7 separate regions of the Homo sapiens genome follow, and regions 2, 3, 4, 5, 6 and 7 are each linked to region 1. The links are contacts of gene promoters, found by promoter capture Hi-C in blood cells and fetal thymus (Javierre and others, 2016). All regions are on one chromosome and are shown on one strand. Each heading gives the region's core, a stretch centred on a gene start or on the middle of the fragment in contact. The rest is flanking DNA. Distances are from core to core; before and after follow the strand shown.

Evidence for each region. Contacts are between HindIII fragments. The CHiCAGO score rates a contact against its expected background, and 5 or more counts as called.
Region 2: a contact is called between a fragment that was not itself captured here and the fragment with the promoter of HOXD4 in region 1, in 1 of 17 cell types (fetal thymus). The highest score is 6.7, in fetal thymus.
Region 3: a contact is called between a fragment that was not itself captured here and the fragment with the promoter of HOXD4 in region 1, in 1 of 17 cell types (fetal thymus). The highest score is 7.1, in fetal thymus.
Region 4: a fragment that was not itself captured here is called in contact with the fragment with the promoter of HOXD4 in region 1 in 1 of 17 cell types (fetal thymus); the score reaches 6.8 in fetal thymus.
Region 5: a fragment that was not itself captured here is called in contact with the fragment with the promoter of HOXD4 in region 1 in 1 of 17 cell types (endothelial precursors); the score reaches 6.0 in endothelial precursors.
Region 6: a fragment that was not itself captured here is called in contact with the fragment with the promoter of HOXD4 in region 1 in 1 of 17 cell types (endothelial precursors); the score reaches 5.3 in endothelial precursors.
Region 7: a contact is called between a fragment that was not itself captured here and the fragment with the promoter of HOXD4 in region 1, in 1 of 17 cell types (endothelial precursors). The highest score is 6.3, in endothelial precursors.

What each region holds. Positions count from the first base shown.
Region 1 is chr2:176,149,209-176,153,487 of GRCh38, reverse strand. It overlaps HOXD4 (homeobox D4), which reads right to left and starts at 1,938. Exons shown (of 2, transcript NM_014621.3): 1 at 1,422-1,938; 2 at 262-880. The coding sequence starts at 1,854. The coding sequence ends at 546. MIR10B (microRNA 10b) reads right to left here and starts at 3,185; the gene lies at 3,076-3,185. It also overlaps a transcript of HOXD3 not described here. RefSeq lists an enhancer at 1,486-2,219. The HindIII fragment of the contact is 3,668 bases long and covers 1-2,665 here.
Region 2 is chr2:176,617,088-176,621,366 of GRCh38, reverse strand. The region is part of intron 4 of LINC01116 (long intergenic non-protein coding RNA 1116); the gene reads left to right. Among named protein-coding and RNA genes, the nearest start is that of MIR1246, 18 kb to the right of the region's middle. RefSeq lists an enhancer at 1-454. The HindIII fragment of the contact is 485 bases long and covers 1,801-2,285 here.
Region 3 is chr2:176,593,033-176,597,311 of GRCh38, reverse strand. No RefSeq gene overlaps it. Among named protein-coding and RNA genes, the nearest start is that of MIR1246, 5.9 kb to the left of the region's middle. The HindIII fragment of the contact is 5,480 bases long and covers 1-4,279 here.
Region 4 is chr2:176,573,151-176,577,429 of GRCh38, reverse strand. No RefSeq gene overlaps it. Among named protein-coding and RNA genes, the nearest start is that of MIR1246, 26 kb to the left of the region's middle. The HindIII fragment of the contact is 915 bases long and covers 1,834-2,748 here.
Region 5 is chr2:176,530,654-176,534,932 of GRCh38, reverse strand. No RefSeq gene overlaps it. Among named protein-coding and RNA genes, the nearest start is that of NRAL, 25 kb to the right of the region's middle. The HindIII fragment of the contact is 3,325 bases long and covers 511-3,835 here.
Region 6 is chr2:176,474,334-176,478,612 of GRCh38, reverse strand. No RefSeq gene overlaps it. Among named protein-coding and RNA genes, the nearest start is that of NRAL, 31 kb to the left of the region's middle. The HindIII fragment of the contact is 859 bases long and covers 2,021-2,879 here.
Region 7 is chr2:176,423,474-176,427,752 of GRCh38, reverse strand. No RefSeq gene overlaps it. Among named protein-coding and RNA genes, the nearest start is that of NRAL, 82 kb to the left of the region's middle. The HindIII fragment of the contact is 170 bases long and covers 2,394-2,563 here.

The DNA.
Region 1 (4,279 bases), core at 689-3,188:
AGGTGGGGCCACTGGGAGCAAAATATATATTTTTTAATCACATGAAATTCCATAGACAACCCAGAAAGTCCAGAAATCCTGACCCAGCTCTCTGGCTTCCACTGAAAGCACCTAGCACAGGGGTGGCCAACCTTCTGCCTCAACTCCCCCACATTATTAAGCCACAAAGCACCCTGGAGGGGTGGAGTGGGGGAGAATGTCCAAATTCACAGTGGGATAAAGCATCCAACCTTCATTTGCAAATTCAAAATCCAAGAGCGGTGATTTTCATAAGTTTAATGACTCGCCAAGATTTTATGTTCTCAGTAGCTCCTGCCATATAATATACTTAGAGAGAGAATCCCGCCCCCCCTCCCATCCCCATCCCGCTCTAGGGAGGGGGCTGCCCTCGGGCAGGATGCTAACCTAGTCCGAGGGCGGCCTGCTTGTCCCAGGTCCACCCCACAGTACCTTAGAGCCCAGCGAGGTGACAGCAGGCCCGGCCTGCCCCCGCAGCTTCGGCTCAGCCTGGTGCGCAGGGAGAGATGGGCCCAGGGTCCCCACTTCTATAAGGTCGTCAGGTCCGTGTGGTGGTCTTTGGCCATCGGCTGTAAATGCTGGCTGGGGGCGACTGAGGAGGAGCAAGATGAGGAGGAAGATGAGGACGATGACCTGCCTTTAGTGTTGGGCAGCTTATGATCTTTTTTCCACTTCATCCTCCGGTTCTGGAACCAGATCTTGATCTGGCGCTCCGACAGACACAGGGTGTGAGCGATTTCAATCCGACGGCGCCTTGTCAGATACCTGTTAAAATGAAATTCTTTTTCCAGTTCTAGGACTTGCTGCCGGGTGTAGGCCGTTCGGGACCGCTTGGGTTCCCCACCGGTGTAGTTGGGGTTCACTGCGAGACAAAACAGACAGGACAGGCAGGTCAGCGCCCGGCCACTAGTTAGGCCCCTCGCCTCCGCCGCTCACTTCCTGGCGCGCCCCGAGGCCCGCGGCCCTCCCCGCGCGCTCCCAAGCTCGCTTGCTTCCTCCCTCCCGCCCTCTCCCCGGCGCACACGCTCACTCCCACCCACCTCCTCAAACACACCCACATACCCCAGGCTTGCGGGATCCCCAAATGTGCTCCTTCTTCTGGGCCCACCACCAGGTCCGGAACCCTCAAGCATTTTGGAAATCCCCCGCTCCTCCACAGCCTTCCCCCTGCTCTGAAAATGGAGTCCTCCCCCACCCCCCCATCCCCACCCCCTTTTGCGCCCACAGCCGAGCAGCCAGCCACATGGTCCTGACCTGCTCCCTCAGCTATAAAAATTTATGGGGAGAGTAATTGCGGCGCCCATGGAAGCTCCACACGCCCCCACCTACTCGCACCCCCTTCCAGAGGACCCAGGCTAACGGGCTGGGATGTGGACAGAAAGGTTACTGGACCCTAGCCTTACCCGAATTCACGTGCACCTTCTTCATCCAGGGGTAGACCACGGCCGGCTGCTTGAGTGCCGTCCCGGAGGGCGGCTGCTTGGGGTCGGACTGACTGTAGGCCCGGGCGCCAGGCAGGGGCGCCGGCGGAGGCGCCGGGGGAGCTGGGCAAGGCTCTCCTGGAGCGGCGTAGTGACCGCCGGGGCCGCCTGGCTCTTGTCCGTGACCCCGCGCAGGCAGCGCCGAGCCAGGCCCGGGGCCGCTGCCTCCGAAAGGCTGCTCACCGAAGTCGGGCCGTGGGTAGAGCCCCGGGGGCTGGAAGTCTGCGCCCTGCGCGCCGCCGCCGTAGTAGTCGGCGCCCTGCTCGCCTAGGTAGCCGCCCTGCAAATACTCCTCGCACGGAGGGAACTTGGGGTCCACATACTTGGAGTTCACCATATACGAACTCATGACCATTAATTTCAGAAGGTAGAAAATACTAATTTTTCTCGTGTTGTCTTTTTTTCTCCTTCCATAGGGCCCTCCTACTTGCTGTCAACTGAATAAAGTTGGGCAGCCATGTGACCAGGCCAGCCAATGGCGAGGGAGCAAGTTTATCACCGGGTTGGTGAGCATCTCATAATTTTCACAAATTTAACTAAATAACATACGTGTAATCAAGTAGCTTGCTATGGCACATTTGAGAGCCCCTGCCAGATATTAATGTAGTTCCAGTCCCCAGCACCCCATTCCCCTCAGGTAATCCCAGCTTTTGTCTGCCACTGATTTTGCCAACCTTCCGTGGCCCTTCCACTCACCCCCAGCTGAATGCAACCCCCGCCCCCCGACACCAAGTAGGCACAGCTCAAGGGAGAATGAATCCTCCTATTGGGGTACAGAGCAATGAAAGGTGGGTGGGTGAACTCGCCTCTGAGTTGGGCAGAGTGCCCCAGGCGAGGAGGGTTCCTGCCTGCCCGCCCTGCCTGCAGCCGGCGGGAGCAGGGATTCTGCCATACAAAGGCCGCCGTCCTGGCTTTGTCTTCATCAGGGTCACCCAAAAGTTACCAGAATCTGGCCAGCTTGAATCAAATTAGGCAATGAGTAACCGCCATGCTTTCTACCAGTGCCCAGGCCCGGGGGTTCCCAGCCAAAGCTGGGCCCTGCCAAAATAGCAGGGGGCCCTCGCTGCCCTTGCCCATGTAGCTGGGGGTGGGCTGGGATGGTGGCAAGGGCACCTCCACCTTGTCAAAATGCACCCTAGAGCTCCCCACTGGGCTTCTTTGAAGCTTGCTTTCTTCCCACAGGCCCCAAATACAAGCAAGCCCCCATTTGGGTACCTTTGCACCTCATGTTCCTGGAGGGCAGAGCTGGGACTGGGCAAGCTGGCCTTGTACCTCACTCCCTAGTACCCCAAAACCTAGCCCTTTGGCCCTGCATCCATGCAACCAATTAGGCTTGCATTCTCTCTTTCTCTCTCTCTCTCTCTTTCTCTCTTTCTGTCTTTCTTTCTTTTCAGCACCCAGAGGATACTCTGTTTAAAGGTGAGGAGCTTCTGGAGAGGAAAAGCTGCTCTATGTCACCAGGCGCAGCTGATCCTCCTGGAGTCCAAGGTAATAAAACAGAACGAGGCGGCTGACCAGCGCCGGCTGCTTCTAGTCTCCATGTCGCACTTTGGTCTCTGGCTATTCCGAAGAAACGTGAAGTTTTTGCATCGACCATATATTCCCCTAGAATCGAATCTGTGACTATACGGATACCACACAAATTCGGTTCTACAGGGTATATATAGACAACGTTACAACCTCTGGGTCCCACCCAGAGTGAGGTACCTAGGTCGCTGCCGGCCCCAATCTCTTCCTCTGAGCCACCACCGTTCGACGCAGCCACCCGCACTTTCTGAGACAGTTCAGGTAGCCTAATGGGCTTGGCGACAATTTGAAGCAATGAGTTCCCTCATTCTTCTGCCAGGGTCAGGGTTACCAAGCAGGCGAACAACCAGAATATTCTTCTTAAGAAAGAAAAAAAGAAAGAAAGAAAGAAAAATAATCCATCCCAAGGATGGCGGCTTTATTAACCACCCTCCCCCACCAGGATCCAAATAACCCTCCTCCTTACCAAGTGGTATTTTCCAGAAAGGAACAAATGCCCTCAGCGGCAGAAGAAAAAGAAGCGAGAGGGGAATATCCTGTGTCTACTCCTTTTCCTACTGCCCGACCAAGCCAGGTTGTCTGCCAAAGCTACTTCTCCAAGAAGTCGCGCATTTACCTTCATGGGCCCTGATCCGGGCTGGCCTCTCCGTTCCGCTGCTGCTGCAGACCCCGAGGCAGGCGCTGCTCACAGGCACCGAGCCGCCTTGGGCTGAGGCCGGCGCGCTAATGGTGAAGGGCAGGGCGAGGGGTCATTCGAAATCATTTACAAACATATCACAAACTTTCATTATTTTTGCTTTGCCGACAGCAGCACACAAGAGTACAAAAGTTCACAAATTTCACCCGCCCCAGCGCCTCGGCACTGTGCAGTGCTTGTCCCTCAGTTCAGGGCATGGAGAGCGCAGACTCACTCAGAGCCTCGATGGATTTCAGGGGCACAGGGATGCCCTGGCTCGAGTGGGGCTTTTGGGTGCCTAACTGTAGGCTGAAGGTGTTAGATTTTTTTTTAACTGTCTTGATTGCCCTTCCTACCTCCCACATAATTCAAAATTTAGTTTCAAGCCTGGGCCTGGGCCTGGTGGGGTGGGGCAGGGATACTCCCCCTCCAAGCCTGGCACTTTGCTCATCCCCCCATCCTTTGCTTCCACCACTTTACCTGTTTCGTAGGGATTTTGGGGGCGCCAGTTCTAACAAGGGCTATGAGGCTGCAGAATCTGTTTATCCCAGGAGAGTCCCCCCAATTTCCCTGAATG
Region 2 (4,279 bases), core at 794-3,293, 470 kb before region 1:
TCTGAAACAGTACAGGTGATGTTTGTCTTTGACCCAACAGCTGGATTACATCCCAGTTTCACAGCCACAGAAGAAAAGTCTGAAATCTCAACTCCTTATTGACATTTTATGGAGCAGCCACATTGGGTGAGATACTAATATGACTGGACACGGTGATTCCAGTAAAAAGATGATTACTTAAAAGTTTATTTCTCTACTAAGTGTAAGTGTTAGAGGCAATAGAAATAAATAAGTGATACATCTTATGGTTCTTGGGGGTGACATGGAGGTATCTCTCCGAAGCTTGGAAGTTAGGGCAAGTAGTTGTGCTCTAAGCATTAAGTTACTTAAATACATGCATAATTGAAGGAGATAGAATGTTTCTTTACCTTTTGCAAAATGTGATTTCAGAAGAAGCAGGAGTACAGCCCAGTGTCCTAAGGAGCATGAGTCCTACAGTGCTTCTCAAATCTGTTTGGGACAATCTTCCATAGTCACAGTGCCGATTTCACTTTGTTTACATTTGCATTTCTTAAACATGTTTTAAACCATAGAACTCTATCACATGACCTCTTGCTTTTTTAAAAATGTCATACTCATTAGTGTACTAAGGAGCTAATTTACAAGGCATACTTACTCTGGGAATATGGCCTATCCCAGGCTAAGGACAAAAGCTCACCTTGGATGATCTGCACTGGAACACAAAATAAGTAATCATATAGGCAGAGTTTTGTGACTTGTGTAGAATTGTCCTAGAGAGATGGTGATGGAAGTGAAAGGGGGAATCACTCCAGTCACCAGAGATCATGTCCGTGTGCATGTATGTGTGTTTGTGTGTGTACACATGTGTGTATGACTTGAAGTGTCATCTCATCTGTCCTTACCGTAGTCTGTATGGAACATCCTCTGATACTATTCGCTCTCCCTTTGCAGATTTCTGATTAAAAATGTGATATGAGGAAGGTGTTCCATGGATAGGAGCAAGGTATTCTGGACCCCAGAAAGGGATATCCTCCACTATGGATAGTGAAAATTTTCTTTTACTTATTAGTTTCTTGTGAATTAACCAGATACAGTATGACCATCTCTGAATACCCTGAAAAATACCTGGGTCCAAATAGTGGCTTTGCTACTCACTAGATGTATACTCTCAGGCTGGGCTCCATTTCTTCATTTGTGTATTGGGGATACTACGATCTTGTGGGATTTCCATAAGTATTAAACAAAATATGATTAGCGCCTTTCACATCATAAGCATTCCACAAATCTATTTCATAGTTTTGTTGTTTCTATTATGATTCCTTATTGCAAAGATCAACAGACATTAGCACAATTTATAATGTGTTAGAGCCCTTCAAACATGTTCCTCAACGGCCATTGTTAACAACATGTGCATTGCTGTCTTTGATTCACCATTGCTAAGGCAAAATGAGTGATGATATATGTGAAAAATGAAAGAAAAGGTCTATAGATAGGCAAGATGCCTTTTTCCTTTGACTTTCAGCTCCTGGAAGACAGGGGCCTTGTATCTCTATACCCGGAGTGCCTAGTAATGGGCAGGTATTTCTGCTGAATGAATGGATATGCTAATTATCAACTAGAAGGTTCTGAAAAAGAGAGTTGTCGTTGGAGGTGCTGTGTAGATCCAATAATAATAGAAACCAGCTCCTGGAAGGGAATGCCAGCTTGGCAGAGCTTGCGAGTGAGAAGCAAGTCTTTAATAAGCTATTGGTGTTCATAGCTAGAGAGAAAGGGGAATTTAGATTGGGAGACGGGATGGCTTCAAGGATTCCTGATCAGGTTTTTATTCTGACGAAAGCTTGCTGGAAAATGTCTCAGCTCTCTGATATTGTGAATGCCTGTCTGCAAGAGGCGCAGGAAAATCAGGCGAAATCGGTTAGGGTGTTCTGCTCAGTAAGGCTGAATGTGATGGATGGCTCGGTGTGCTGTTTATCTACTGCAGGTTGGTATTTCACCTCTGTTTTCATTAGACTGATGGTAAGGTAATAATTCTTTCCTCTGGCTGAAAAATCTGTCTTCAGCCATTTGTTGATCTTCTTGAACGGGAAGTTCAGGTGCACAGAAGTCACCCTAAAGGAGATTTTGAATGAAAACTTAAATAATGCTGGTCGGCATCCACGGAGCTCTCCGGCAGCACAGGCCTCCGCTAGACTGGCTGTGATTATTAGGTGTGCAGCGTCACATTTGCCCAAGGACAGCAAGCCTACGGAATGATACAGGGTAACCACCGCTGTAGGAAACAAAGCGTGAACATCACATTTGATTTCTTTGGAAACACTCAAGCTTATATTGTAAATTAAATTAAAGCAATGCAGTCTTTATGAGGTGTTTCCATGTAGCACTGTGTTACGGTGGAAAATGCCCCAGCCCGGGCCTCGGAAGTCTCCACCATGATACTCCCTCTGGGCAAATCTCTTAATGTCTCTGAGCCTCCATTTCTTCATCTCTCAAGAGATAATAATAATGTATGCACTGGTTTTTAATAGAAAGCTCTTATCAAGATGATATAGCTTTGAGTTTTTTCCCAAGGCGAGGAGGAACAAACAGAACAATGACAGAGGCTAGTGGCTTTAGTAAGCTGCAGCTCTATAGCTCCTCCCTCTTTCCAACCTCTCTGATGGAGGGCACAGAAAGGAAGATGACAGAGTTGGCTCATTAAGCATTGATCAAGGAAGGACTCTCCCCACACCCGACAGAACAGATCCATCCAAGCAGTTTTCTGAGTTTGTGAGCTGATGGGCAAAGTGATAGAGCTTCCACTCACAGGGCTCGTCAGTTGCTCCATCGGGAAGGGGACTGCTGAAAGGTTTCATCCACCCGAGACAGAGTGGCCAGTAGAAAAGACAGAATCTTGTAACTGCTGGTTCTAACTCGTGGGACTTCCATTAAGGATGAGGGTCCCTTTCTTCCTATAAACCTGTGAGGACAGCCCATCCATTACTTCTATACTGTGGGTTACCTGCATAAGAAACGGTTCTCATTTAATGTAACGAGGTGCCCATATGTCCTGATTTGTTCCTGACAGTCCTATTTATGCTTTTTGTCCCAGAATAAATATTACAGCACTACCATTAACTCTCAGAGTCTCTGGGTTTGGTCAGTAAATTATATGACACAAACGCATTAATTTTATAATAGGCACCTTCTCAATTCCCAGCAAATGCTTCATATGTATCACCACTAACCTCTCTACCATCGGTTTGGTTGATTTGTGATATACAAATACAAATACATTTTTACTTTATATTTTTCACATAGCAATTTCTAGTCATCAATATCATTTTCACAGCACTCCTGAGTTGAGGGAGAGTAATTACAAAGAATTGTGATTAATAAAATGATGAAGGATTTTCTTTCAAATACATTTATGAGAATAAACTAACATAACTTTTGTATAGTGTCAATTAAATGCAAACTTACTGGCCAAGCACAGTGGCTCAAGCCTGTAACCCCAACACTTTGGGAGGCCAAGGTGAGAAGATCACTTGAGACTAGGAGTTGAAGACCAACCTGGGCAACATGATGAAACACTATCTCTACAAAAACTAAAAATACAAAAAATTAGCTGGGCATGGTGGCACACACCTGTAGTCCCAGCTACCTGGGAGGCTGAGGTGGGAGGATCAACTGAGCCCTGGAGGTCAAGGCTGCAGTGAGCCGTGAGCATGCCACTGCACTCCAGCCTGGATGACAGAGTGAGACCCTGTCTCAAAAAAAAAAAAAAAAGTAAACTACTGTAATTTATAATTCTGAAATAACAATGTCAACTAAAGCAGTATTATTACTATTTTTAGAGACAGAGGCTTGCTCTGTCAACCAGGCTGGAGTGCAGTGGCATGATCATAGCTCACTGCAGCCTGAGACTCCTGGGCTCAAGCCATCCTTCTGCCTCAGCCTCCAGAGTAACTGGGACTACAGGCATGCATCACTATACCCAGCTAATTCTTTTAACTTTTGTTTGTTTGTTTGTTTTTTGTAGAGAGGGACTCTCTCTATGTTGCACAGGCTGGTCTTGAACTTCTGGTCTTAAGTGATCCTTCCACCTTGGCCTCCCAAATTGCTGGGATTATAGGCAAAAGTCACCATGCCCAGCCAATAATTATTTTTATTTATTTGTTCTTCATTTAAGCAATCATTCAACAAATGATTGTTTGTGAAATGTTTCCAGGTACTGTGCTACATAAGAGAAATTTAGACAGAGACTTTTACCATAGGAATTTATAGGAAATGGGTTTAAGAGACAAGTAGATTATAATGAGACAAGATTATAATATGGCTA
Region 3 (4,279 bases), core at 1,016-3,515, 440 kb before region 1:
TGCTACATGGATAGAGTGGTGGGTGGATAATGCAAGAAGAACCAGAAGCCTCAGAAGTGAAAATGCTTTTTCAATGTCACATCTTGTTGTTATGGATAAGGCCCAGGTGGATTTCTTAGTTTAGTCTGGTGGGTATTCAGTGGTCATGCTTCTGGGAAACTTTTAGAGGGATGGAGAGCCTGATATTCCTCTTACCTCTGTGTACCTGTTCAGTGACCTATTAAGCCTTTTCTATGGAAGCTGTAAGTGACCTATTAGAGCCTTTTCTATGGAAGCTGTAGGAACGTCTGTGTCCACGAGTCAGATACACAGTGAATATTTATGGAATAACACATAGTACTTTATGCTGTACTGGGGCTTGGAATTATATAGTAACCATTACAAATAGACTTTGCCTTCAAATTTATAGTCTAATGTCTATGTGTGTCTATGTATAAGAGAGAAAATGCAAATTCTAAGAGCAGCTCTAATGTGAGAAAATGAGGGCATGAATAAGTCCTTTGCTCCTTGACCCAAATAGCATCTTTGAATAACTGTCAAAGGACTTGAGTAGGGTCAGACAATGTTTTCAGGTAGTCATGAAAAGAAATGACACAGAAAGCTCTTATTTACATCTCCTTTGGCTAGCCATGGAGATCCCTAGATTGAAAATAGGGTGACCTTTAGAGGCTCATCACCATCTTGGGTGTGAGTAGCCTGGAAGGAAGATGTACTGTGAGCCTGATCTATAAAAGGGACCAAGAATCCCTTGAGCTGACTCTGGATGCAACCTCAGATGGACTCATAACCTGCAAAGGAGGCTTAAACTTGCCTAGACCTCTTGACAATTGCTTTAAGTGAATTTGCAGGTGATTGACAGCAGCTTGATTGAACACCCTCTCAGGGTTCCTTCTCCTGGTATAATTCAAATGTCCCTGGTTCTAGGTCTCCTTGATTCTTGGGCCCACATGGATAGGAAATTTTATTGTAAAAGCTGATGGCTTAATTCCTCCTAAAGAAAGTGCTACCATAGCTTTGCTTAGAAAAATACCACTTTGGTTTAGGAAAATCCACAACTCTTACTTTTCCTGGTTCTAGCACATCGTTGATCCCATCTCATATTTTCATAAGCTGTTTATATTGGATTGCAGCCACTGTGTATTAACTTATCGCTCTTTCTCTCTCCAGGCCAGTGAATTAGCTCATGCGTTCAGCTGCATTTAACAAAGATCCAAACACAGTGGTTTAACTAACATTTTCTTAACTGCCATGAAGTTCAGAAGTAATATAATATGCACAGAGTTGGTGCCATGACTTTTAAACCACCAAGGACCAGGCTCCTTCCAGCTTCTTACTTTGCCATCTTAATATGTGGCTTTCATTTCCATGGTTTCACAAAAGAAAGAGAAAATGACAAGAATGTAGAAAAAATGGGGCTTTTATGAGAAAAGTAAAAATTTTCCAGAAAACCTCAGCAAAATTCTAATTGGTCAAAACTAGGTTACTCTTAACTGCAAAGGAGACTGGAAAATACAATGTTATCTGGAACAAAATGAGGAGTCTGTGGGCAGGAGAAAGGAAAAGGATGGAGACTATAATAATATAGACAATAAGGTGTGTCTGCCACACCCACATACCTAGTGTCTACGAAGTATAGACTGATCTCAGTGTTTCTAACGTACACACACACGTGTTCACACACACACACACTAAAAATATACTCTGCAATATAATATTTTTTCTGAAGACTGGGATGATTATAAACTTTCTAGATGCTCCTGTACAAACAGTAATTAAAATCCCTTAGACACTTTCTTATTTGCAAAATGACAAGAACACTTAAAACTTGAGGGCGAAAACCTGGTTCTAGAACCAATTCTGCCACCAACCATCTGAATGATCTTGAAAAAGTTACTTTCTCTCTCTGGGCTTCGGCTTCCTGAGTGGTCCCACTGCTGACACTCTTAGTACCTCGACACATCCCTTCACCTCCCAGCAGATACATATCTCTCCTCTGCTCAGAACACTTCCATGGCTTGGGTTGAAATTCAGTCCTCAGAATCTGGGTTGTGTCCAAGTTTCCTATGTCATCTTGTACCACTGTCCCCTTTGCTTATTTTGCTTTGCCACACTGGTCCTCACCTTCCTTAGCCATGCCAGGCTCACTGTTGGCCTGAGTCCTTGCTGTTCTCTCTGCCTTAAATGCTCTGCCCCAAGGTCTTCAACGACTAGCTCCTTCTTACTATTCAAGTCTCAGTTCAAATGTCACCTCCTGACAGTGATATCTAAAGTACAATTTCAACCCAAATCCTCTCTATCATAGAACCTGTATATTCCCTTCAGAGAATATACCACAATTTAATTATCTTGATAATACATTTGTGCATTTGTTTGCAGTTGGCCTCCCACTAAGAATGTCAGTTCCTTGAGAACAGGAACCTTCTCTCTTATTCAGCATGGGTAATCCTGGCACAGTTTCTGTCAAGTTTCTGTCAATATACAACAAAGGTTTGTTGAATGAATTAATGAGGAAAGAGGGCCTTCAATGTCATCTCACAGGTCCCTTCCAACTCTCAAGTCCTGCAGTTCCCTCTCACAGGGCTACTATGAAGATGAGAGGAAACAACGCATGCCACTGTACCTTCTAAATTGGTAATCAGCACACGAAATGTGAAGGCTGTTACAAACAATAGTGTGATTTGGGGTAATTTGTAAGCTGTTAAAAAGGAACTTGGCTCTTGGAACATTGTTTACAAAACAAAGCCTGAATTGATAGAAATTAGATGCAAAGTAAATGAGCCATTTTGAAAGAGTGTTTTCTGAAGGGGTGACATTCTGGAAAACAATATCAACTGAGCAATTTCTCCTTCAATCAGCTCTGTAGAAAGTGATACTCTTCTCCTATCCTATAATATTTGCAGAAGTTCTATTTGTAAGTCATTTCTAAAGGGCAGCAATTTGTTTTGTATTAGAGTTTCTGTGAACTGATGATTCCAGTCAGTTCGATCATATATCTATGGAGCATCTACTTGATAGGAAATTTCATTAATGTGAGTTAATTATTATGGAAGATATACCTGTTTGACAACTTTCATTGGCCCAATTGGAGTCCTGAACACTGTATTGAAACCCAGAGTTTGCCTTGATGTCCTTTAGTTGCATGCCAGACTTGGCTGTAGCCAGTCGATACTGGTTTTAAATCATAGATTAAGTCTGCATTCCCAAGGGATAATTTGAAGCAGTCACCTCACATCACTTGGACATTCATGTCACCCTCAGCTTAAAGAAGTTTTGTTGGGAATACCAGGTCTCATGTCACTCTGCTGTCCCTAAATAGTTAGTGGCTCCTCACTGTCCCCTGTAGTAAGTCCGATCTTCCTGCATTCAAGACCCCTGCAACGTGGCCCACCCTAATTCCTAAGCACATAATCTCCCTAAAAAGGCAAACCTGTATCCAGGCCAAACTGAGCTACAAGGAATTTTCCAAACATTATTGGTACTTTCTTACCTGCTTGGCTTTGCCATGCTGTCCCCCAACCCTTGAGATGGAGGACAATCCCCACCATCCCCACCTGTAGAAAAATTTACCCCTTCTTAAGTCCTGGAATCCCCTACCTGGTAGCCATCTCTCCATCCTCTTTGTATTTAATCATAATAAGTACATTCATGCTTACTGAGACCATGCACCAGACACTGTTCTAAGTACTTTACATGGAACCCTCAAATGAACTTATGAAAAAGCACCACTAACATCCCACTTTCCAGATGGTGCTAAAGGATAAAGGAGTTACAAAGCGGAGACTACAGTAGTACATGCCAGAGTTGAGACTCAAGACCAGATAGGTTATCACCAGAGCCAGTTCATACCAGCATTAGAGAGTCTATTATTAGGATCTCTTTCTAACTCTCCATTCAGTGATGTCAAGTTGGTAGCTTGAAATAAGCTATAGTGAGAGTATTTACACCATGGAAATAGGCATGAACTACACACCAGCGTACCCTCCTCCCACAATTCTCTTTCAGATCAACAGTTGTTATTGTTAAATATTTAGCAATGTAACAGTGTCTGGGGCCCACCTTCTCAACCATTGTGTTACATTGCCACATCTATTTGTGTGTTTAAATATTAGTCTCACCACATTGAGAGTCCCTCAAGGTAAGGGGCCATGTCATACCCATTTATATCACACAGCCTTCCATGTACACAATAAATATATAATTCATAGTTATTGGAATGATTTATAATTCATTCTCAAAGTGGCTAATATCAATATTCTATTGTGAGATGGAAAAAGTGGCA
Region 4 (4,279 bases), core at 1,042-3,541, 420 kb before region 1:
TTGTAGGAGACAGTTACAAACATATACCTTGCAAATACTATTTGCTACACTCTTTGCTGTGAAATCTGTGTCACTCATTGATAATGCCAGAGGCTGTTATCAGTCAGGAGATTACTAGACAGTAGAATTATCTGGACAATAGTTTCCATCTTCCTGGCAAATAGGTTATACAGGACAGACTCAAAAGCCTTCTTATCTATGAATTATTGTTTCCTGCTAACAATCGTATTTGATTTGAAGGAAAATTTTTCCATTACTTTTCCAGAGACAGAAATTAAGATTACAGTCACTCTTTTATCCTTCATTTTTGACCTCAAGGGCAGAGGTCTATAATAATCCTACACCTCTTTGTATAGCATATCATCACATAACTCCACAAAAAATCCTTCTCATATTTCATTATTTTTTTCCTCCTCACTCAGATCCTCATCCCCATTCTTCTCACCCTCATAACAGTCAATTTAATATTTTGATGTGTGCATATATTTTCATATATCTACTGTTTTTGTACTCAACAAATTTTTATATTTGTTTTTAAAATTTAGACAAATGGAATTTTAAATATCATTCTCTCTTTATCACTCATAATTTTGCTTTAAAAATTTACCCATATTGCCATATTTACATAAAAAATATTGCCTCCACCAGCTGCACGGTATTCCAGACTGCGACAACCCAGTGTACTGATCCATTCCCCTGGTAGAAGGCATCAAGTTTGATTCCCCATTATCACAAATAATGCTAAAAAGACATTGGCATATATGATCCCTTTGTGAAAATTTCTCTGGGATATGTGTTCAGAAGTGGGATTGCAGTAGTAGGGTGACTATATAATTTATTTTCCCAAGAACATCCTGGAAAATGAAAACGGCACTATTAATAATTATGTCAGAACCTCAGACTTTCCCTGCTACCCTGAGTAAGAAAGGGCCTCTTGTCACCTTAGTCTTATGACATACTCATACTTAATTTCATCAAGATTGTCAGGTTGCTTTCTGAAATAATCATACTCATTTCCTCTTCCCTCAATAACGAAAGAGTTTTCACAACCCCTCATCCTTGCAAACACTTGGCATTATTCAGTTTTCTAAACTCTGATGTTCTCATGTGTCTAGAGTAGCCAATTGTTCTGCTTATCAATGAATTTGAACACCCCATCCAACACCAGTTCATCATTTGAGCTTCATACTGTTTGCATATATTTCTATGGTGTTTCCTGTTTATTTCTGGTCAATTTGCAGGAGCTTTTTATAGATTCTAGATATTAATTGTGTCAGGTTTTTTTTTTTTGTCAAAGTCGGTTTTAAGCATTGCAAACATCTTCTCCTAGTCTATCATCTGTCCACTAATGTGATGAAGCTTATGGTTTACTGTTGCCAGGGTCATCATTTTCTCTTCAAATAAATAAATAATATAAATTTAAATAATAGATTAACAATTCTCTTTAAATCTATAGGAAGATATTATTATCTTCTTCCCCAGTCTCTGGCTGACTGTCTAGCTCTTTGCACATTCTTTTTTAAACAATGATAAAGTCTATAATGACTTTAGGCAAGTCACTGCCATCCCTCATGACAGTGGTTCTTAAACTGAACGTCACCTGAACCACATGGGGTGGGGCCAGACTCCGCATCTTTAACCAGCTACCCAGGGAATGCTGATGCTGAAATCCAACAGCCCCATGTAAAGACACATGGCCTAGCATACAAAACACTGGGGCCAGCAACATGGGATAATAGTGCTGAAAGAGAGCTTGGAGATTCCCTAGTTCAACCCCCGCACACACATTCCAAGTCTTGAGAGGACAAGCACCTTGACCAAGAGGCCAAAGCTTCAGGCCTCCTGCCTGATGCCAGGCCGGGGCTCTTGTCATCACAACAGGCAGGACGTGAAATACCTCTCTTACTCCAGTGCTTCCTTATTGACATATCCTAATCAGGAAGAATCATTCCATTTCATATACTGTATAGTGAGCCCTGTTTTCGTTTTACTGTTGAATTTTTATCCAAGGCTTCGGGTGGCAAAAAGATAAAATGCTTTCATCTTAGGATGTCATTATTATCAGCACGATCTAATTTAGGAGAGCAACATGCTTACTTCTTGCATTTTCAACATTTTTAAAGTAAAGCAAAAGATCCTCCTCCCTTGTCATGAATAGCATCTCTGAAAATAGTCCACCAAACCTCCAGAGTCCAGTGCAAACAAAACTCGGCTCCATGGCATCCCCCTGTTTCGTATTCACATGATGCAAAACACATGGGCCAAATTTATGTCACCGCAATTTGCCTGGCAGCGAGCATTTAAATCACCAAGGTTTGCAGCTCCACGTTTTAGGATGTTGTTTGCAATCCTGTAGCCAAGAGCTCTGAAGGAACAAGCTCACATGAAGGGTCGTTAGCCAGCCGGATGTGATGGGGCTGTTTTAGCAGAGAACTAATTAGTATGCTGCAAGGTATCTGCATATCTCTCAAATAGACATTGTTTGTGTCTTTCCTCAGTGACAGGGGGAGATTGTTCAGTAGAACACCTTACCTTTTAATATGCGGGGTTTGTTAGAAGAACAGCTCAATTCATATTTCCCCTGGTTTGATGGTAAGTGAACAGCAGTGGCAATATTAATCTGTAGTAACCTGTCAGTGAACTCTACAGCTAATATGATGTAGTTATGATTTTACCATCAATCAGGACTGAACAGGCTCTGGGCAATCCTTACAGCACAGCCTCAAAAAATCTAATTGTGCAAAAGCTTCATTGGTTTCCAACATTTCTTTTTATCTGTCACAGGCTTTAGGCCTAATACACAACCTTTTATTATTGGCCTTATTGCATTAGCTTGTCGGACAAAGAAGAAAAGGCTAAAGCAGAGAGTTCCCCTGCATTCCATCATTTGTTTGCATGCAGGATTTTATTTGACAGTCCTGTATTGTTTTAGATGTAGATAAAAATTATTCAGACATATGGCATCATATGAACTTTTGAACTGCCAATTGCCAATGTGTCCTAAAGGACTGGAGGCATTTACAAATTCTGCTCTACCTACAAAGACAGAAATGCTATATGGACGAGCCAATAAGGTCTCCTGGGGGAACTGTATTTTAGAATCAACATAATCTTGCATGTTCTCCTTGACCAGTTTTTATGCAGGGGAGGAGTAAAATTGAGAGATGGAACATTAGCAACTGAGATGATTTTTAGCCAAAATGAAGGTTGAATATTTGAGAAATTAAAATGGAAAAACAGTTCACTTTCTCTGAGAACCCGCATGCACAGCATGAAGTAGTATGGAGCCACATGGTGTCCCTTCGTCCCTTCATGTGCAGAATATTTTTCTGGGTGTCTGAGATGCAGTGAGATTCAGTTCCAATGAGAACATGTGCATAAAACACAAATCCACATCAAAGTAGCTCCAGCCTTGAGACTACTGGGTTGGAAGGAACTGTAAGACTTAAAACATATAAAAGCATTTAGGAAGATGAACTATTAACTTTATCTATTTAGGCATTTTAATCTTTTGCATCTTAAATGCAATTGGGCTTTTGGAACTGGGAAATTGCTAATCAGCATGTTGGGTAAATGTTTCTATTTTAAAATGTGCACATTTAGAAATAACAGCTGGCCATAAAGTACATATTTATGTTTGTGATTTAATGTATCACAAACTTTATACTTTATTTCATTCAGCTTCACAAAGAGACCACGCTATTTTTTTTGCAAGCATTATATAACTTTTGCAGCAGCTTTATGACTCAAGAAACACATACAGCAATAAATCAGATATGTATACAATGCCTAGTTTTTCAAATTTGAAATGTCTATTAATGAAAAAATGTAAGGATTATATCCATCTCTTACACTGTCCTAACTCATTTAAAGATTCGACTGAAAATTCCTGTCCATTAATCAGGAAAAATCTGCACAGAATTATACCGATTGTCATTTGAAACACTGCACCCTTGCTTCAAAGGAAACATATTGTGACTAAGGGCACAACAACAGCACAACTGAGTGTTAACCCTTCACAAACCAGCGTGCACATTGTCTACAACCTCATAAAAATAGCTACACAAAATAAGGAAATAGCTATGGCATCCTGCGGTAAGTGTGCAGGAACACGCCTTGGGACTACTGAGGTGGCTGCTGGAGGAGAAAGATGAAAACAGGATGTTAAATGGTTGCAGCAGTGGTGGCAGCTTTGAGAGTTCTCTGGCCCCATCTTCATCGTTAGATGAGCTTTTTCTTAAAAAGGTGGTCTCTAGAGGGTTCTTTTCAAATATTTAAA
Region 5 (4,279 bases), core at 924-3,423, 380 kb before region 1:
GGAGCTGAGTAGCGGAGAAGCCATAAACAGAAGCTAAGTGATGTCCTTCCTGCTCTGGGCTGCTGGACACCAGGCAAGTCACTTACCCCTCCGAGCCTTAAACCTGGAAACAGGACAGCAGCCAGACCCTACTCAAGGAACAACCAACAAAACCTATGTGAACATGCTTTGAAAAACATTAAGCTTGGCCGGGCATGGTGGCTCACGCCTGTAATCCCAACACTTTGGGAGGCCGAGGCGGGTGGATCATCTGAGGTCAGGAGTTTGACACCAGCCTGGCCAACATGGTGAAACCCATCTCTACTAAAAGTACAAAATTAGCCAGCTGTGGTGGTGCAATGCATGTAATCTCAGCTGCTTGGGAGGCTGAAACAGGAGAATCGCTTGAACCCGGGAGGTGGAGGTTGCAGTGCGCCAAGATTGCGCCATTGCACTCCAGCCTGGGCAACAAGAGCTAAACTCCATCTCAAAACAAAACAAAACAAGAAAAGAAAAGAAAAACATTAAGCTTGACATAGATGAAATCATTTATCCTAGCCTATAACAGAAAATACAGATCACGGAGAGCTAAGACTAAACCAGGTGACTTTGGTTTGCCTGTACCCATTTTCTTTCTTATAAATTCATGCCCTTCTCTTCCCGCATTTTTAGAACATTCTTAGTAATTTCTCCACATAAGCAACCCTGATTTTTTTTTCAGCTTTGAAATTGTCTGCAGGGGCTTCTTTAAGCTGCACTTGCTTTGTCCTCTACAAAACCACATTCTGTTAAAAGAACCATCAAGCACGGACCATGGCTAGGGTCAGAGAGAGCTAGAAGTCCTCTCTAGCTCTACCCATCTGCTCCTTCCCCTACTCTCTTTTTTTCCTGATCCCTTCTGCTTCCTCTGGACAGGAAACACATAGCCTCAGCCATATGATGCCTCTCCATCCTACAGGAAGCTGGAGCACCAAGCTGAGATCACAAGTGCTGGGGCCTTCATCGCAGGCACCTAATTGTTTAAGTAGCTTTTGATCACTTTGCAAAAATATCCCTCTCTCCTTCTTTGTAGCTGCATTGAATGAACATATCCCCTTATGTTTTAAAGAGTCCTTTCTTTGCAGGAAATGAAGGGGAGAGGAATATTAGTTATCTGTATTGCTAGGTGTATTGTGAAACTCTGGATGGCATAATACTTGGCAAACAGGACTGCAAGTCTCTGAAGTTAATCAAGTTGTTGAGGTTTTCAGGATCCAATTATTGGCAGAATTTCCCCACACTCCTAATGCCAATTTAGATGTCTACATGTCTAGGGAACAGTAAATATAAAACATGAAACTGCAGCGTTAAGAAAGAATTGTGGCTGCAGTCCTGTCTAACCAGCGTGCTCCCTATTCTCAAAACTTCCCTTTGACTAGATGGGGAACAATAAATATATATGCCCTCCTCAGTCCTGGAAAGAGCCACCTTGCTGTTTTCCAAAAGGAGATCATGACCTATAACAGAAAATATAGGTCATGTAGAGGTAAGACTACACAAGGTTATTTGGGTTTGCTTGTACCCATTTTTTTCTTATAAATTCATGCTCCTTTCTTCCAACATTTTTAGAACATTCTTAGTGGTTTCTCCACATAAGCAATCCTTACTTACACTTGCATGCCATATCATTGATAACAACCAAATTTATAGTCTGTAGATCAGAGACACAGGCTGATTAGGAACAGATTCATTTGGATTTCGATCTGCACTTTGCATGATGGAAAAGCTAAAGCCTATTGCAGCACTCTGTTTAGATATAACTCTGATTCCATGAACTGTCTCTAGTTGTTACAATGAGGCCTATAAAAGGGCAATCCTAAATAAGCCTGAAAATAATGTCTTGGCACAAGGTGCAGTATCAGATTTTACCAGCGATACCTATAAAGTTCTTTACCAGAATATATAAAGGTAGTGTGCTAGCCAAGACTCCTTTTCATTTCACTAAAAGAATAATGGCCAAGTTAGGATGTTAAGACTTATCATCAAATGTTTTCTGTTGCTTCCCCCAAGGAAAAGTAACAGTGTGATTATCTCATCTTGCTAGAATTACTCTGTTGTGTGAATAGGGGAAGAAAGTTTGGGAAGGGGGAAATTAAAGCAGGAAAAATAATGGAAGGCTATGAACCCTAATACTAATTAAATTATGCCATTAGAAAATGTAATTCTTCCTAAAATCCAGACTATGTAATGTTGGTAGGTGAACAAAACTCCCTGGATGCCATGGAATGAGGAGGAAATGGCTAAAGCCCACAAGACCCAAAGAAAAGGGTCTGTGGAATCTGAAGGCACTGGTGTTTTTCCTGTCATCCTTATGAGTCTAAATTGTGGAGGATATGAACAAACAAAAAGCCCAATGAGACTATTTATGAGGAGAAGCAATAAAATCCACCAGATAATGTATGACAGAGAAGGGGAAATGAACTTTCCCAAGTAGAGTATAATGTGCTCTTCATGGGTGCAATGCACAAGATTAACGATGCCACCCTCAGACTCCTCAGTGGCATTTCAGGACCTTACAATGCAGCTTCCTTTCATTTCATTGGGATATAAATAATTGATAACTTGAAGGGACCTGAGAAACCCACTGCAACTGAACACAGATATTTTTTATGACATCAATTACAGGGCTAGTGATTTGATGAGAAAAGGAAAATATCTCAAACTACACTTTAATGATCTCTACCAAGAACCCCTAGTGTTCCAAATGAAATGTGGGTCTCTGGGCCTGGAGTTCTTTTTCTCTCTCTCTCCATTTTTCCTCCTCAGAGGGAATATAAGTTATAGCTGAATAGAAGAGATGGTTAATTATTTTCATGTCTGTACTTTGCAGTAGTGGGTTTTAGGCCTCCACATTCTAATACAGAAGGAAAGGCTTGAGAGAGTTGAGGCTCTGGGAGTTGCGGGGGCGGAGTTCTCTTGTGTGTGCCACATCAGGGCCGCCTGTTACATGACAGAGGTGTTGTGGAGTTAGGCCTGGCAACTAGAGCCATGATCATAGTTGAGCTTGTCATTTATGGCATTACAACACCAGGACATGTTAAAATGATATGGGAAGCAGTACCATTAAGGCTGTTGAAAGGAAGTCAGAGTTCAAGTATTTGTGCATGAGGCACTTTATGTGGTGACGACTTCTGAATTTATAGTTGTCAGGGCAGGAGTAGATGTTGATTTGGTCTGAGAACAGGTCTGTTCACGCTTGTTTCTGGTTGATCGTGAAGTCCAGTTCATTTTACTTTTTTCATAGCAAAATTCCTGCAAGGCTGCTACTGCTTTATGGAAAAGGTTCAGAACCATACCTGGAAGGTTATCCAAAGACTCCAAAGAGGTAAGGCAGTGAGAGCTGTGCTAAATCCTCATTGTGCATTGGTCCTAAGGGACATGTGCTATGAGGTCATATTGGGATCAGGGCAGAGAGGGCATGGGTATGTGATAGAATGAAGGAGGTGGGAGGTAAAGGAGATATTTCAACCCAATTCCAAGAACAATAAAATCTTATTAGTCTATGACCCATTACATACATTTGAATCCACCACAAGTCAAAAAAGATGCCTTGAAATATCATTACAGGGTACAGGAAGTCTCTCTGAATTAGCTTTAATAGGGGTTTGGGTGTGTTTCTCCACTGCCAATATCGTCATTATTGGATTGCATTTCTTTCTTTATAGAGGCCTAAACAACCAAGGGGGGAACTTGATCTGTTGGTTTAGAACTCCAGAGATCTGCCAGACTGCTTACTCTTGTGTTGAAAAAGATACTGGCTAGTTGTTAGGCCATAATATTGAAGTCCTCATACTTTAAAGCAATGTAATTCTAAGCTTCCATGTCTTGTAAATAGCTGTTGACTGACTTGTCTCATAAGTAGGATGGAAAGGAACAGATAGTGGTTCAATGAAAAGAATTCATTTTTTCCTTCCAGTTTTTTTAGGCAAATACATCCTTGTTCTCTAGTTTCATTTCTTCACCATTCCTCTGCACCTTCCTAATATTTAGTATAATCTAATGAAGTCAAACAAGCTATAGGATGTAAGATTTTCAAAATGTCAGCAGCAAAGTACTTATTGCGGTTTTCTTTTCTTATGGCACCAGGAAATAATCAATCTATTTTTATAAGTCTTCCAACCCAACTTTGTCTACTTAAGAAAAATCAGTCTCACTCCAAATGAGATTTATTGAAATGTTCCTAAAATGCCTCCTATTTACCTATCACAAGTGAAACATTATTCAAAATGTGGAAGTGGTTTGTGGAGATGGGTCTTTTCAA
Region 6 (4,279 bases), core at 1,201-3,700, 320 kb before region 1:
ATGGTGGTTTGCTGCACCTATCTTTCTATAGCTTTGCATATGATTCAAACAATTGTCAACATCACTTTTATCAACTTTACCAATCCCACATCTTTTGTAAGATTTACAGCTTCACTTTGCAGACTTATACTATTTTGTTAAAGTAAATGGCAAATTTTGTGTTAACTAGGGGAGAGATTTTTAAGTGAATAAATGAATTTTAAGTGAATAAATGAATAAATAACATTAGTAAAGATTTTCATGTTATGATTACTTTTGCTCCTCTGCACAATGCATAATGGAGGGACTCCAATAATAAGGCAGCTTTGTACTTGTGAGAGATGGAATCCATTTCACTTTTTGTCTACCCAAAACCATCTTAGACAAAAATGAAAGATGTTTGCCTGATTCCTGATCCCTATGAGAAAATATTACGTTTTAGAAACACAAGACTGAAATTAATGGAATTCTCATTTTAATAATAAATAAAAGACTTCACAAAATAATGTTGTATCAACTAGAAAACAACTGTTTGCTATGACAGTTCATAGCAAAACTGTGATAACTGTCTTCACAGGATTTTTCATAATGAGAAATATTCCTTTTTTAGAATATTCTTTGTGGCAATCCATGACATCTTTATGGTAAAGGCCATTTATCAGGGAATAATGCAGCAGATTGCCCCACAAGGATTCTCAGCTCAGGGTCATTTGTTCCTGAAAAACATGGTCCCTGTGTCCATAGAAGAAAGAAACGGATTGACCTATTGAAGCTGGAAGGTAACATTTAGAATATCTAACGAAAACAAATCTTTTCACAGAAGGTGTTCAACCAGCCATGCTGATGATTTTGCTTCTCCCAAACTGCTCCTTGTGTATATTTTGTTTGCAAACATGTTATTTGGCTCCAAGATGTAGTCCTGGTGTTCTCATGACTTGAGGGTACTAAGCATGGGGTTCTGAGCCTGGCTCCCTTCTACCCTTCAACTGTGCTGCCACTTCCAAGCAGTCTAAGACAGTGGGTTACATCTGGTTGAGAGGCAAACCCAGGAAATGGAAATGAGACACTGTGGACAATAAAAGAGGAAAGAGGGGAAAGCCCAGAGAAGGGTGTGTTGTCCAGTCAATGCTGTGAGTGATGGAGCTCAAGCCTCCAGGAGCTTCTGAGACACTGTATAGAATGTGCCTCAGAGGCCAGGCAGGCACAGTGGCGCAGTGGTTCATGCCTGTAATCCCAGCACATTGGGAGGCCAAGGTGGGTGGGTCAGCTGAGATCAGGAGTTTGAAACCAACCTGGCCAACATGGTGAAACCCTCTCTACTAAAGATACAAAAATTAGCTGGGTGTGATGGTGCATGCCTGTAATCCCAGCTATTCGGGAGGCTGAGGCAGGAGAATCACTTGAACCCAGGAGGCAGAGGTTGCAGTGAGCTGAGATTACGCCACTGCATTCCAGCCTAGGCATCTTAGCGAGACCATCTCAAAAAAAGAATGTGCCTCAGAATTACCTGCCTAGGGACACCGAAGAGGAAGCATTTCTCCGCCAGCTCTTATTTCCACTGATCAAGGGCTGCCTGTGAAACTTTACCTTCCTGCACTTCCAGGTTGCGTATGTGAATGGGTTCCACAGGCATCTCTCTCAGCCTTGATGTCAGAGGGGCCTTGGGACAGGAAGCAAGAGGTCCATGGTGTAGCTGAGGTGAGGTGCTGTCAAATTTGGCCACATAAAGCTAATTACAATAGCAGCAGGTAGAGTAAGAGGTGGGCCAAGGGTGGGAGACAATACAGGCGAAATGCTAAACACAGAGATAAAACCACTTAGGTGAAGACTAACAAGTGAATTGTGACAAAGTACCCAGCAGTCATATCAATTCTAAATGCTGTTGGGGATGCCAAGAAGAATAAGTATTTTTATGGTACTTGCATATGGTGACACATGGGGACCCTGGCAAGGGACCATTTCCATACTCTTTCTCAAATGCTGGTTTCATCATGTTTGTATCCTTCTGCCTGTTCAGAGGATGGGTGAACTCTTGGAAGCTTATTCTCTTAGTCTGTTTGGGTTTCTGTAACAAAATACACTAAACTGGGTGACTTATAAACAACAGAAATTTATTTCTCACTGTCCTGGAGCCTGGGAAGTCCAAGATCACAGTGCCAGCATGGCCAGATGCTGGTGAGGGCCCGCTTTCTTATAGATGGATATCTTCTTACTGTAACCTCACATGGCAGAAGGGGCAAATCAGCTCCCTTTGGCCTCTTGTAAGAGCACTAACCTCATCCATGAGGGTTCTTCCCTCATGAGCTAATCACCTCCCAAAAACCCTGCCTCCTAATACCATCACCGTGGGGTTAATATTTCAACATATGAATTTTGGGAGGATGCAAACATTCAGACCATAACACTTTTTTAAAAAACACACTCAGCCAGGTTTCACAGGGCCCCAGAAGCCTCCAGGTCAATCTCTGACTCCATAGTTCAGATGCTAGTAGAGAGTATGACTGAGAGTAGGCACTCTACAAACAGTAAGTCTTTGTATTTTTACTCCATAACTGCTGACCCTTCACTCCTTTTGCCTATACTGCTAGTTTTTTCTTTTTGTTTGTTTAAACCCCACGATACTCTAAAAAGTTCCTAAGGTTGCAGTGTCTATATTCCAAAGTTAAATCCCACTGCTGTCTTTGTTTATGTATGTCCCTAGGCTGGGAATGCTTCTCTAGGGCTTTTCCTTGAAGAACCAGAAGTTCAAGCCCAGGCCAGGCATGGTGATTCATGCCTGTAATCTCAGTATTTTGGGAGGCCAAGGGAGGAGGACTGTTTGAGCCCAGGAGTTGGAGACCAATCTGGAAAACAGAGAGACACCACATCTCTACAAAAATAATTTAAAAATCAGCCAAGCTTGGTGGTACATGCCTGTGGTCCCAGCTACTCGGGAGGCTGAAGTGGGAGGATACTTAAGCCCAGGAGTTTGAGGCTATAGTGAGTTGTGATCATGCCATGGCACTCCAGCCTGAGTGACAAAGTGAGACCCTTTCTCAAAAAAAAAAAAGAAGTTCAAGCCCAGGCCTTATTAGTGTGTATATTTCACCACGAAACAAATATTTATTGAATATCTCTTTATGTGCCAAGCACTGGTGATATGGCTGTGTCCCCACTCAAATCTCACCATGAATTGTGATAATCTCCATGTGTCAAGGGTGGGGCCAGGTGGAGATAATTGAATCAGGCCAGCGGTTTCCCCCATACCGTTCTTGTGGTAGTGAATAAGTCTCACAAGATCTGATGGGTCTAAAAATGGGAGTTCCCCTGCACAAGTCCTCTTGCCAGCCACCATGTAAGACATCCCTTTGCTCTTCCTTCTCTCCCACCATGATTGTGAGGCCTCCCAGCCATATGGAACCACGAGTCCATTAAACCTCTCTCCTTTATAAATTACCCAGTCTCAGGTAATTTCTTCCTTCAAAGAGCTCACAGCCCAGTGTGGAGAAGGCAAACAAGTAAAGACACAATTATATCACAAAGGAATGGAGACAAGTGCAAGGAGCTGAAAAAATAGTCCAGCCAGGTTTGGAGGAAGAAAAGAGAGGGCTTACTGAGTTGTGCATTCAAGGAAGTAGCTAGGGGCTCTGGGAACACAGAGTAGTATGTGCAAAGCCCTAGGGACAGCTAAGAAATATGAAGGAGACAGATACGAAGGACCTTGTGTGATATGCTGAGCACTCGGCATTTTATCTTGAAGGACACAGAACCATGCAACAGACATCCAGAATCTGCCCACTTCTTGCCATCCGCTCTAAGCCATCATCACCTCTTGCCTGGATCATGGCAGTGGTCTCCTGATGTTCTCCCTGCTTCTACTCTTGCCCCTCTACAATCCCTTCCCAACACATTGCCAGGAATGATTTTGTTACCTACAACTCAGATCATATCACTACTCTGCTCAAAACCTCACAATGCTGCAACCCACTCAGAGTAAAAACCAAACCTCTCAATAGCAAGAGGCCTCCCATGACATACACCCAATGCCATGCTGTCAACCCATGCCCCTGAGCTCCCACCAAGGTACCAAGATTCCACCCTCCTTGCTGCACCTCCAGCATGGCAGTCATGCTCCTTCCTACGGTTTCCTCTCCTAGAATGTTCTTCCGCATGTCCCGATGGCTTGTCGCCCTTGCTTCATTCAAGTCTCTGCTCAGACAAATATCTGCTTTATCAGTGAAGCCTCCTCCAGCCAGTCTATACACAAAATAAGAAATTCCCTTCCCTTGCTGCTCGTTTGCTTTAGGTCCCCTACCCTGCT
Region 7 (4,279 bases), core at 1,229-3,728, 270 kb before region 1:
AGGACATGAGGCAATTTTTATTGCTTGTGGCTTCTTGTGTTTGCCATATATTCCTGCTGCCAGTAATAATAGGATCTTACAGCCCAGTTGTTTACTGGAATGTACTGCTCTGCATTATGAGGCTATAGCTATCAATATGGTTGTATAAATTCACAAAAGTACATGAGACTATTAGCTACAATAGTTATTGAAGCATCGAGCATGGATAATATAGAAAACTTGCAAAGTTATTATAAAACATAAAAAAATATGCTGACAAGTTATGCTTTTTTACCTCAAGATTTTACATACATTTATACCCGAAGCAACGTCGTCACAGGACTAAGATGTCAAACAGCTGCAATGAGGCTCAGGTGCAAACCAAAGATGGATACCTAAGGGCTGCGGTTCAGACCCTCCTTCTGTGAGTGGCATTTGGTTTCACAGTGTCTTCTTCCTTCATCTATGCAATACTGAAAACAATCTTGTTGTGCCTTAAGATTTCTGGAACGGTCACTCTAAATAAAATTATTACCCACTTCATAGTCCCAGAGAATTTCATGCATAGAAACTAGGACGTGTCACAAGAGTGCCCTGAAGGTTCCTGCTCCCGCCTTCCTGTGAATGCACAGGAAATGGTTGGTTGCCTGCCTGTGAGTCCTTCCCCTTTTGTCCTTCATTTGAGAGTACCCCAGTTTACTCTGGCGTCCACTCCCTCCTCAGCCATATGCTTCAGAGGGTGAACAATGGTGTGCTACATCCTCGCCAGTGAAACACAAGAATCTTCTTATGGGGCTGTGGAAAAGATTTTCATCACTAGTAAGGAGTTACAGGAGACAAAACAACCATCTCTTTACCCCTTGCTTATCTGAGCTGGCTGTGGCTGTGACTGCACACAGTGGCTGAGAAAGCGGCAGCCATCTTGCACCCAACGCAAAAGACAAGCTTGCTCGCTGAAGATGGCTTGGCAGAAAGGCGTGAGAACTTGGGCCCATAATGATGGCATCAGCTGTAAACTTACCCTCCCGGAGTCATCTCATGTCTAGACTTCTTGATATGTATAATACAATAATAAAGCCCTTTATGAGTATAGTGATGTGGTAGGCTGGATAAAGTCCCCCCAAAGATGACCGTGGCCTAATTGCTGGCTGCTGTGAATATGTTTTGTTACAGGACAAAGAGGAATTAAGTTGCAGATAGAATCAAGGTTGCAACTCAACTGATGACTTTTAAAAAGGAAGATGATCCTGGATTGTTCTGGATGGGTGTGCTGTAATTACAAGGGCATTTAAACATGGGAAAGGGAACCTGGAGAGAGGACCTGAGATACGGTAGTATGAGGAGCACGTGGCCGCACACTGTTGAAGGAAGGGGCCATGACTGAAGGAATGCAGGCAACCTCTCCTAACCGGGAAAAGCAAGGATACTGGGGGAGGCTATGCATGTGTGAGGACAGGGTCATATGGGAAATTTCTGTACCTTTTGCCCAATTTTGCTATGAATCTAAAACTGCTTTAAAAGATAAAGTCTATTTAAAAATAAATGTTTTAGACAACAGAAAATGTGTTCTTCTCTAGGGCATCAAGAAGGACCCCAGCCTTGGTGCCACTTTGATTTTAGCCCAGTGAAACCTGTGTTCGACTTCTAGCCTACAGAATCATAAGAAAGGAAATTTGTGTTGTTTTAAACCACAAACTTTATGGTCATTTATTACGGCAGCCACTAAGCACGGATATGGATGACCAAATATTTTATCATCCAAATCCAGGCACTTTTGAGAGTGAAAGGAATGCTAGTAATAATTTTGGCAGAAAAAGTAAGGTAAATTACAGGGAAAAAGTACAGGGAACACTCCATTTGTTGTTTACATCACTTTGAATTGAGTTTTCTGACACTTGTAGACAAAAATATCCTAAATAATTATAGTGAACATGCCATCACATTTCATATATTGGCATAAATTCATTTTTAAAATGTTTTAATTTTAAAACAATGATTCTAACAAACAGAACCAACCCCACAGGAATTAGTAGCTACCTCAACCTGGGCACCAGCTACACATATAGAGGCCCTTCCCACAATTTGGAGAACCCAATCCTGAAGTTGGCTTAGAATATGCAAAACAAACAAAAAAGGAAAAGAAATAAACAGTCAGTTCCCATGATCAAAAAAAGTTTACAACTAAGTTGGGAAGATAAATGTCACAGAAATTAAAGGCCTAATAAACTGATTTATAGAAGTAGCTGTTTGTTGGCAGCACCTGACAGTGTGCCTGTGTGAAGATGTTTTATTCCCCAAGAGACAAGGGAAAAGGAAAACCTGGTATTTTCACTCCTAGTCTAAGCATCCTTTCCTCTAAATGCTGTGAAAGTTCTTTCCCCCAAAGCAAGTTATAAGAAATAGAAAGCAAAGCTTGTTTTGAAAAGCAAGGTTAGAAAGGATTTGACATTGTAAGAGAATAACAGTCAACCATTAAATACAGAAAAAAATATATAATTGCATAAGAATCTCACTTAAAGAAACTCTACCTTTAATGCAGTTCTCCCTTTATACAAGAAAATAAGGATCAATGCTGGAATAAGCTTAGGGAATTCGCTTCGGGTATTTAAGTGGAGGACAGCAGCAGAAGAGGCAAGAGTTAAAACCATAAGAATCCTGAAGGGATTAACTCGGATTCTCTATCTCTGAGGGAATGCAGGAAGAAAGAGGTAAATTTAGGGGCTCCAGCTTGGGGAAAGAATTCCATTTCATGGGATCACTGGAGCAATGCAGACCCCCTGCACACAGAACCATCAACCTGGGGCACAATCAGAGGACTCTGTGGCTCTGGCCATCCCAGGCATTCGTGGGGGAGGGACTCCATTTACCAGAACAATTTCCTGCCCTGAGAGAAACAAGGAAAGATGAAGGGCAGACTCTGTTAATTTAGGATGTATATAGGAAGAGATTTCACTGCCTATAAAGTCACAAATACCATTATAAACTACAAGATGACTTTTTCTTTTAATTGGTTTGTTCAGGTGTTTTAGAAAATGTTTGGAGGAAACAGAAATGTCCCTTTAAGAGAGAAGGCAGGTCTGCAAAACCCTATAAACAGGTTTGGGGGAAAAAAAAACTACTGAAACCGCTGAGCAGAGGTAAAGAATACTAAGGTATGTCAAGCAAGATAATTCTCATACCAAAGCAAATATGTCTACAGAGAGCAAAGTACCTGGAATTCAAATCCTGATGTGTCTTACCTCTGTGAGAAGGGAAGCCAGGGAGCATTAAGGATATAAATATTGATTGGTGTGGAAGTTGAAGACCTGGTGTAACCAGGCCATGTAAATGAGCCAAAGAGATCCATCCTTTCCAGCATAATTTCCACCTGCCCCACCGCAAAAGAAACCACAATTCCCATCCAGTTAATGACTTCTTCACTTCTGTAAAGAAAAATGGCCCTACTCCATTCTGAATCTTTTTGAACTCTTCGTAACTTCCAGCCATTGATCAATAGCTATTATCTTGCTCCTGCTTCTAAGGTACCCTCCCAGTTGAGTCAGTCTTATTCATTCATTCATTCACTTGTTCATTTAGTAAACACATATCAATATCCCCGGAGTGCCAGACACTAAGGGAAGATGAATAAGACCCAGTCTGATTTACTTCCCAATGGTGTACACTTTCCTTGAGCAACTGAGCCAGAAAGGACAGTTGCCCAAATCCCTATTTGTTTGGATTCACCTTTTCCATGTTTTCCCAGCTGCCATTCTAGGTAAAGCCTCCCAGTGTCATTCCAGGACTTTAATAGCAACCTCATGATAGGCTGCCTTTCCCTGTCTGCTCTTCAGACAGGCACAGTGGAAATCTGGCTCAAACCCTAGTTTCCAGCATCCCCTTCTCCAGAGACCCAGCTACGACTTTCTTTTGCTCAGTAGAATAAAAGGCCACCTAAATTTGCTCCTACTATAATAAAAGATATCTTTCCTGCCCACTTCTACTGATGAGGTTAATTCTCAGGATCTCAGCTTAAAACTCAAGAGATACAAAAAGTTGCGTTTGGCCAGCCCCACTTAACTCATGATCCCTCCTGTTACCCTTGGTGTACTCCAAACATATGCATACATGTGTTTTTATCTTCTCTTGTTCATGTCTTGCTATTTAATTGCTCCTTGGTTCTGTATATTTTGGCTTCCTCAACAAAATTCTCTTTAATATTCTCAAAGCACCTGGTACAGAACTGTACTCACAGTACAACATTTAAAATGTTAAATATTTGCCTTGCCGTCAATTAAATGTGAAAAATGAGACCAGCCTGGCC